Linked DNA regions of Homo sapiens: region 2 is linked to region 1. Evidence: promoter capture Hi-C in human tissues and cell types (Jung and others, 2019). All regions are on one chromosome and are shown on one strand. Each heading gives the region's core, a stretch centred on a gene start or on the middle of the fragment in contact. The rest is flanking DNA. Distances are from core to core; before and after follow the strand shown.

Region 1 (3,781 bases), core at 811-3,310:
TGCGTCTTAGAATAGCAAGGCACCACCTTGCGCAGGTTGTCTAGCGCCGCGTTCAGTCCGTGCATGCGGTTCCGCTCCCGGGCGTTAGCCTTCATGCGTCTCAATTTAAAACGCTCCAGGCGAGCCTTAGTCATCTTCTTCTTTTTGGGGCCGCGTCTCTTGGGCTTTTGATCGTCATCCTCCTCTTCCTCTTCTTCCTCCTCTTCCAGGTCCTCATCTTCGTCCTCCTCCTCTCCCCCGTTCCTCAGTGAGTCCTCCTCTGCGTTCATGGTTTCGAGGTCGTCCTCCTTCTTGTCTGCCTCGTGCTCCTCGTCCTGAGAACTGAGACACTCGTCTGTCCAGCTTGGAGGACCTTGGGGCTGAGGCTCGCCCATCAGCCCACTCTCGCTGTACGATTTGGTCATGTTTCGATTTCCTACATTCAACAAGGGAGAGGCAAACAGAAAGAAAAGCAGAAAAACGCTATATTCAAAAGCCAGATACGCCTTCAGCTTCCACTCCCTAAACCTGTACAAATGCTTGCGAAAAGTACCTGCCCATTACAAAATGAATGCCTCTGAGAAAAAGTTAAATGCAGTGTTTTATAATGGCGCGTGCGTGTGCCCCGCTAGTACGTAGGAGTGAGGACAGGACTGGGGGAGGGTAGTGAATATGTATATGTGTACACCACTCACGCATATGTGTTTGTATCCTAGTGATTAACTTAAATGTGTTTATGGTGGTTGCCCGACAGGATAATGTGTGTGGAAATGACTGTACATTTCAGCGACTTCATGTTTATCCAAATGTGTTCAAAGTTACTCACAACTCCATAAAAAAAAAAAAAAGCTGTAAAATCACACATTCTACTTCCATTTCTGTCCTGGCTTCCAGATACTTAGCGATTTAAGTTGAACAGCCATTGCGTAATTTACTAATACTGGCAGCGATTTTTAAGAAGATTACATCGACGGGATACTGAAAAGCAAATGCAGAAAGGAGGAAAAATAGTTTCCACCAAATTGTTTCACCATCAATGTAACATTTGGCAACAAAAGTGGACAGGGTCTTCCACCCCTCCCTCGCCTTTCTTTTCTTGCCTTCCATCTCTGGCCCACCGCTAAATTTCCACCTTGTACAAAAGCGCTAGCTGCAGGGCGAGGGCTGGGGGCGCGGCGCAGAGCGCTCTCCCACGCGCCGGGGATCAGGTGCGGAAGGCTCCTCTCTAATAAACAGCCCATTGAAAGGGCCGCCCGCTCTTTATTGGGGCTTTTCAAAGTTCGCCTCAAACCTCCCTTTAAAAGATTGAGTAATTATAATGGTCAGCGATTGGCAACCGCGAAGTTGCCGCTTCTAGTAAGGAAAATAAAAAGCCTTTAGTAAAACAACTGAATTTCTGGCTCCAGTAGTGGCTGCTGGGGACTTGGCCGCCTCTGGAGCGGTAACAGGTAGCAGGAGTGAGTCCCTCTCCCTTTCTCCACTTTCCCCCCTCTCAACTAAACTATCTCTGAACCTGATTTATTTTCCATGGTGTGAATACTCAAGGTATCCATGTCCCTTTCATTCACTGAAAACACAGCTTGACACTCCCAATGTGCGTAAAATACATGCACACAAAATATATATTGATAACATAGATTTTTTTTTCTTACTGTAAGAAGTGAGAAAGTGAAGTCATTATTGCTTTTGGGACTTTAAAATCAGCACTAGCAGATAATCATAGTTACCGTGCATTCTTTTAAAAAATCCAAGAAGCTCCTATGCTATCCACAAAAGAAACCCAAATTTTTAAAATTTAAATTAGAAAGCCTGCAGGGGGTACTTGAGTGACACGACTCATTATGTGTGAGTACTTATGGGCAATTATGGAGGGGGATGCTGGTCTCAATACACATACACACTCTCGCAAACGCACACATACAGAATATGTAGGTTCATCAGTCTTCAGTTATTGCTTCTATTCTGGGGCAAAAAAATGAAAGAACTGTAATTACCTTTGTTGTTAGTAGGTCCTGAGCAGTGATAGTCTCATAACCCTGGGGCCTCCGGACGCCGCGCCTCCTGCGTGGGCGAATTCCTCGTGTCGTGGCCGCGCGGGCGCTCAGGTTATATAGCCCAGTTAGTGATGCTAAGCGCGGGCGGGGCCGCTAGCTGAGGGGCTAGCAGGTCTATGCGCCTGACGCCTGCGCACGCGTCCAGGCTGTGCGCTCCCCGTTCTCCCCTCCTCCCCACTTCTCCCCACGCCTTGCTCGTCTCCCGCCCTCCTCCGACAACCGCTCCCCTCACCCTCCACCCCTACCCCCGCCCCTCCTCCTTCCTCCCCGGCATGCGCCATATGGTCTTCCCGGTCCAGCCAAGAGCCTGGAACCACGTGACCTGCCCATTTGTATGCCGCGGAGCGCTCCATTCCGGCCCCTTTGTGGCCAGAAGAAAGTGGCCCATCTGTCGCCAGTTAGAGACTCCGCGGACCTGTTTTTACCCGCAGGAGAGATTAACCCTTTCAGGCGGCAGAAGGGACGGGGATAGAGGGGGGAGGGGATTTGAGGGAAGGAAGGGAAAAGCTAATGTTAACTAGGTCTAGATCAGAGCGAGTGGCCTGCTTTCGCGCCGGAAGTAGGACAGAGGTGAAAGAGGCAGAAGCGGGGAGACTGAGGCACGCAGTGAAGAGTCCTCGCTCCTTTCGATTTCTTGTCCTGACACTGGCATCCAGAGCAGCATGACTCCTTGCCCTCTCTGAAAGGCCCATCCCTTGGCTTCTTCTCCTTGGCAGACGCTTTGATCATTGGCGCCAAAGGATGGCTTCTCCTAATCTCCGTCGGCCCCTCTAAGCAAACATATACGCCATATAAAAGCGGCTTCATCTGTAAACGCAGCGTTGAGATTAGTTCCCCAACCTCCCTAACCGGATCGTCCTCTCCCAGTTCCTTCAGTACAGAAAAGTTGTACCTGCCATTCTATCCCTACCATACGTGCAATTCTTCATGTCCTGACCTTCAGCTACGACTGTTCCTCCAGACCCTCTCACTACGTCAGTCCCCACCTCCATCCCCAGGATCTTGTCCTCAAAGCGAGCTAGTTCTCGCGAGGAGGCCTTGGTTCCATTGGCCTTTGCGCTCTCTTATGTGGGAGCTGGGGACTTCTTTGACGGTTGTATTCTGCCTTTTAACCATGGCCACTGGGTTGCTGGAAAGGGCACCCTCACTCAGCCAGTCCAGGGACGCTTCTGGTTCCCTGGCCAGCCCGCCCTGGACGGCCTCGGCTCTCTAGTCCAGGCATTGACCACAAGTACGGTGGTGGACACCTCGCCACAGCCGGACCTGCGCTCTTGCTCCCCTCAGTCTCGGGTCTGTATAAGATACTTGATTCAGACAAGCGTTTTCAAAGAGAAGATGCAATGGGCCTGTGCTGAACGGGTCTTTCCGATCTCTTTCTAGAAACGCCTTTAGCACAACCCCGGAAGGATTAATGGCTGCGAACTCCTCCAGACTTCAAAGCCTCTGATTTGAAACTCCCAACTTGAAGGTCAAGCAAAGACCACAGAAATTCTCGACCAGTTCTGAAGGAGCCATATTGTTGCCCAAATAGCAATTCTTTACTCTTTTCGAACAAGGGTTTTCCAGAATAATAGATTTTAAAAAGAAAGAAAGAAACTGGCCTGTCTACTCGTTCTTTCCCAGCTTTGCCTCTAATCCTTCATTAACTAACTCCTTACCCCCTCCCAGACCTGAAACCCTCTGCAATAAATACCTCTTACGTGAATTGCTTATTTAAAGGCAATTGCACTAAACATCCCTCGAGTTTG
Region 2 (3,963 bases), core at 531-3,030, 1.4 Mb before region 1:
GTGAGTAAAACAAGAACTCAACTAAATCTGAAGCCCTCAGCAGACACATTAGCCCATATTGTCCAAAATTTGTAAATATTGGAGTTGATTTCATCTAACTCTCTTGTATGGTGACCACTCCTTCCTCCCATGTTCTGTCACAAGTGAGCCAGACTGAATGTTCTCTCTTTGGAGAAGCTTGTCTCACTTTGTAATTCAGCCAACTGTTTGCCCTATCAACTCTTTGATTGGTCAACTAAAATTGTGATCTTGTAGTTTTCGTATTTTTCACATTGTTAAGGTTTGAAAAACACTCTTAACAGCTTTCTGCAGACTAAAGAGAAATGAGAAAAAGCCAGCCATTTTTCCGTGGCTTTTTGTAATTGTACCATCACAGGGTTACCAGCACAAAATATCTTCTTAAAAGAAAAAGAAAACCATATACATTAAATGATGACAAATATGACTCCTGGCAAGGGAGAAGAAATGCTTTATTATAGAGTATAATAATTTTAAGGGTAATTTTTAAAAATATGGTTGTGATTATATGATTTTTAAAAGCACTTTTGTGTTAATTTCCATATTTTGGATCAGGAATTTCTGTCCAGTAGTGAGAGTCAAATTTAGGAAAAAATGTAAATAAGACTAAGGGTTAAGTATCTAGTAGACAGTCACTGCAAGTTCATAGGTAACAGGTTAAGATAAATCTATTACATATCACAAGGGATAGATTTTAAAGTAATAATTTAAAAGCATTAACCACAAAAGAGGATTTCTTTGACTAGGGAGGAATTAAAAGAAGGCAAAGACTGCAAATGAGTACCACTGTTATTGCAAAAGTACACAGAGATAAACTCATCCCTTGAGAAGTGTTCCCCAACTGTATAAAGGGATTGAATGAAACAAAGGAGTCTTAATAATAATGAGCAATAATAGGCTCTTACAGCTGACCTTTCCCATAAAATCCCCTAAGGGCTTAGTGCATGTTGAATATTATACCAATTTGAAATAGTAAAGAGGATTGTTAGGCATAGAAACCATTTCAGTTATTGACAGGACCCATAAACTATGACAGAGAGAATTTTTAAAGGTTCTCTAGGGATTACAAAGCAAATGCCTTCAGGTATTGTGTAGGTAATGTAAATGAGGGAAGCTGTCCTGCTGTAAGACAAATAGAAATAGTGAGGTTTGAGGGACCTATGTCAAGATTTTCAAATCTAAATTGCTTTAAAAATTGCTTCAGCCAAAGTAAATATATCTGTAGGCTCTAGGGTTCCCTCTCCCTGCCATGTCTACAACAACAGCATTTTATCACTATGTTAACTAAAATGTTCAGTTTCATAGCTTGCATCTATGTGTCTTACTATATCACACAGCCAACTCTTATATGATATGTTTACTTGCCTGCTAGAAATTGAGTCTAAATCTTAAGATCTCCTTGGACATTTTTTTTGCAACTAAGAGTACTATGATGCCCAAAAATCTCTCCTAAACTTAATAAATTATGAAGACCTTACTGAGGTAGTACTTGTCAAATTGGAACATGGTTCATGAGCTAAAGAAGCTTATACACTCACACCAAGTTCTCTTCTGCAAGCCTAACTTAGAGAGTTAAGAGGAAAGATGAGTGAAGTGAAGATAAATCTTTTCTTTCTTCTTGTTCTTTGGAAAACATTTGCCCGAATGGATATGTTTTATTTAACAAGTGTTGTTTAACATGTTGTAGAAAGATAGAGAATATGACTTACTGATTTGGAAGATAGCAGGGTGCATTTTTATCTATAGAAAGAAAAGCAGCCATACACACACTCACAAACAGAAAACCAATATTAAGTAAAAATAAGGAGTAGAGAGGAAAATGTTTAGAAGTAGACAAACTGGGTTAATTCTATGGCCAGTAGAAATACAACAATTTGTGCTTTCCTCTGGGACACTAAACATAATTCTTGGATTTGGGTAGAGGTATGAGATTAAAATCTGTGTTTATTTGAATCACAATTCTGATGCTCAGGAGAGAGAGGAAATACATGACTCATTTGTTATGACCAGTATCTGAGAAGACAAAACTCACAGGCTATTTTTTATTATCTACAGAGTAGATATAAGATTGTTTTCTGAGACTTCAGCTGCATGGATTTTTGTACTTTGGAAGTAAATAAGAGAGAGTTGTAGAAAACCTCAGAGTTTCTGATGTTTTTCATAATGAGATCCATAAATATTAAGAATTATATGACTAATTAATTACTTTGACTTAGTCCTTGGGTCTGAATTTATTTTTATAGCCATAAAAAGTAATTATATTATTTGATATGGCTTGGTTTTAAAGTTTACTTCTTTGTACTTCTTTTGAAGCTCCTGTCCAAATTCTTTTAGGACTCTGTGTATTGGCTTGGTTTTAACATAAAATTAGTTGAATGTACTTAAATATAAAATAAATGAAATCCCACATGCTAATGGCCCTTATAAAAACATAAAATCCAAGTAAACTTAGTCAGTTCTAAAGAACTATGCGCATAATATAATTTACACAAAAATATAAGATAAATGATGTTGCTTTGCTAACATGAAACTTTTGGTTGAAAGGTGAATAGAGTGCTGATTTTATCATAGTCCCACAGCTTATAATAATATATGCCTGTGTTGACTCAATTTGTCACAACTTTTCCCACTTCAAGCTAACATTATTCCAGAGCAATTCATAGGACCCTCAGGAACTGTCCATAATCTACAGTTTATAAAAGGCTGGCCCACAGGTATGGTACTTGCTCAATGCTTTACACTAACTGGGACATATTACACTAATTGGGACCCCATGTAAATAAACAAAGAGAGAAAAAATAAGGCAAACAATATATAAAGCACGCATTTTTTTAAAAAAACAAAGCAAAACACCTCTTACAGCATAGAAACACTTAAAGAAACTTCCATTTGTTTTGTTGTTATTGTAGAATTTTCTCATGGGAAACAAACTATTGAAAGGATTTCCAGTAGTCCCCTCCTCACTAATTATCATTTTCTCTTGTAATTATCTTGATAAGTTTTAGAGAATAAATTTCATGGGAAGCTGCCCAGAAGTCCTTTTTCAGTCACTCATTCCGTGCTCTAGTGGGAAGTTGCTGGCAGCCATTTTGGTGACAGATAAATCCATAGATAGACAGCAAGCTTGAGGCAGGTGGGTGAATTCCAAGCCTATGCTAAGTGCTCAACCTGAGGAAGATTATCCAGAGAAGTCACTTTAAATTTTGGGAGGTGGCAAGCACAACACCTGGAGATATTGCCTTAATTTACCTCCTTTATTACTCTAGCCTAGATTGATGTGACAGCCTGTTAAAGATTAAAGACAGTGTTTATCCCTAATTTGTAATGCTAATGCTTCCCAAGAACTGTGGTGAAGGATTACACAATTAGCAATTTTACACTTTCATCATTGCAGTGGAATTTTCAGAAGGCACCCCACCCAATGTTGAACTCTGGTTGTGTTCATGTGTTGAACAATTATATGTTCTGACCATTAAATTAGTCAGTTGTGCCTGATGCTCATTTTCACTTCTGTAGCTTTTGACTAAATATTTCACTCAAGATGAAGTCTAGAAACCCCTAGGCTAAATTTTATTACATTCTTTCTTAAATAATGTTAAAACAGCTTTCATAATATAGGATACACTAGATTTCTTTCTCATGTTGCTGAAGGTATTTTTGACAAATTTATTGGTATTTGACTCGCAAATAAAGAGAAGGATGATTGCTGGCCCTTAAAATCTGTACATGTTTTGCCATCTGTTTAGAAGCCAAAATTATGCAATCCATACTTTTAGGATGAATTTAAACATAGATATTTCCCTTCTATAGTATCTAACATAATCAAACTTTTTTTTACATGTTTTGGCTTATTATTTTTATCATTACCATTACCTTACCTTCTACTTATTAAGATGCACTTGTTACAGTACACTAGGAAGTAAAAAGACATATTTTTTTCAACTA

What was found. Contacts are between HindIII fragments. The study calls those that stand out against the background at their distance.
Region 2: a fragment that was not itself captured here is called in contact with the fragment with the promoter of NEUROD1 in region 1 in 1 of the 25 tissues and cell types used here (dorsolateral prefrontal cortex).

What each region holds. Positions count from the first base shown.
Region 1 is chr2:181,678,457-181,682,237 of GRCh38, forward strand. It overlaps NEUROD1 (neuronal differentiation 1), which reads right to left and starts at 2,061. Exons shown (of 2, transcript NM_002500.5): 1 at 1,974-2,061; 2 at 1-415. The coding sequence starts at 404. RefSeq lists an enhancer at 2,711-3,287. The HindIII fragment of the contact is 10,799 bases long and covers 1-3,781 here.
Region 2 is chr2:180,320,974-180,324,936 of GRCh38, forward strand. No RefSeq gene overlaps it. Among named protein-coding and RNA genes, the nearest start is that of EPCART, 200 kb to the left of the region's middle. The HindIII fragment of the contact is 4,485 bases long and covers 1-3,963 here.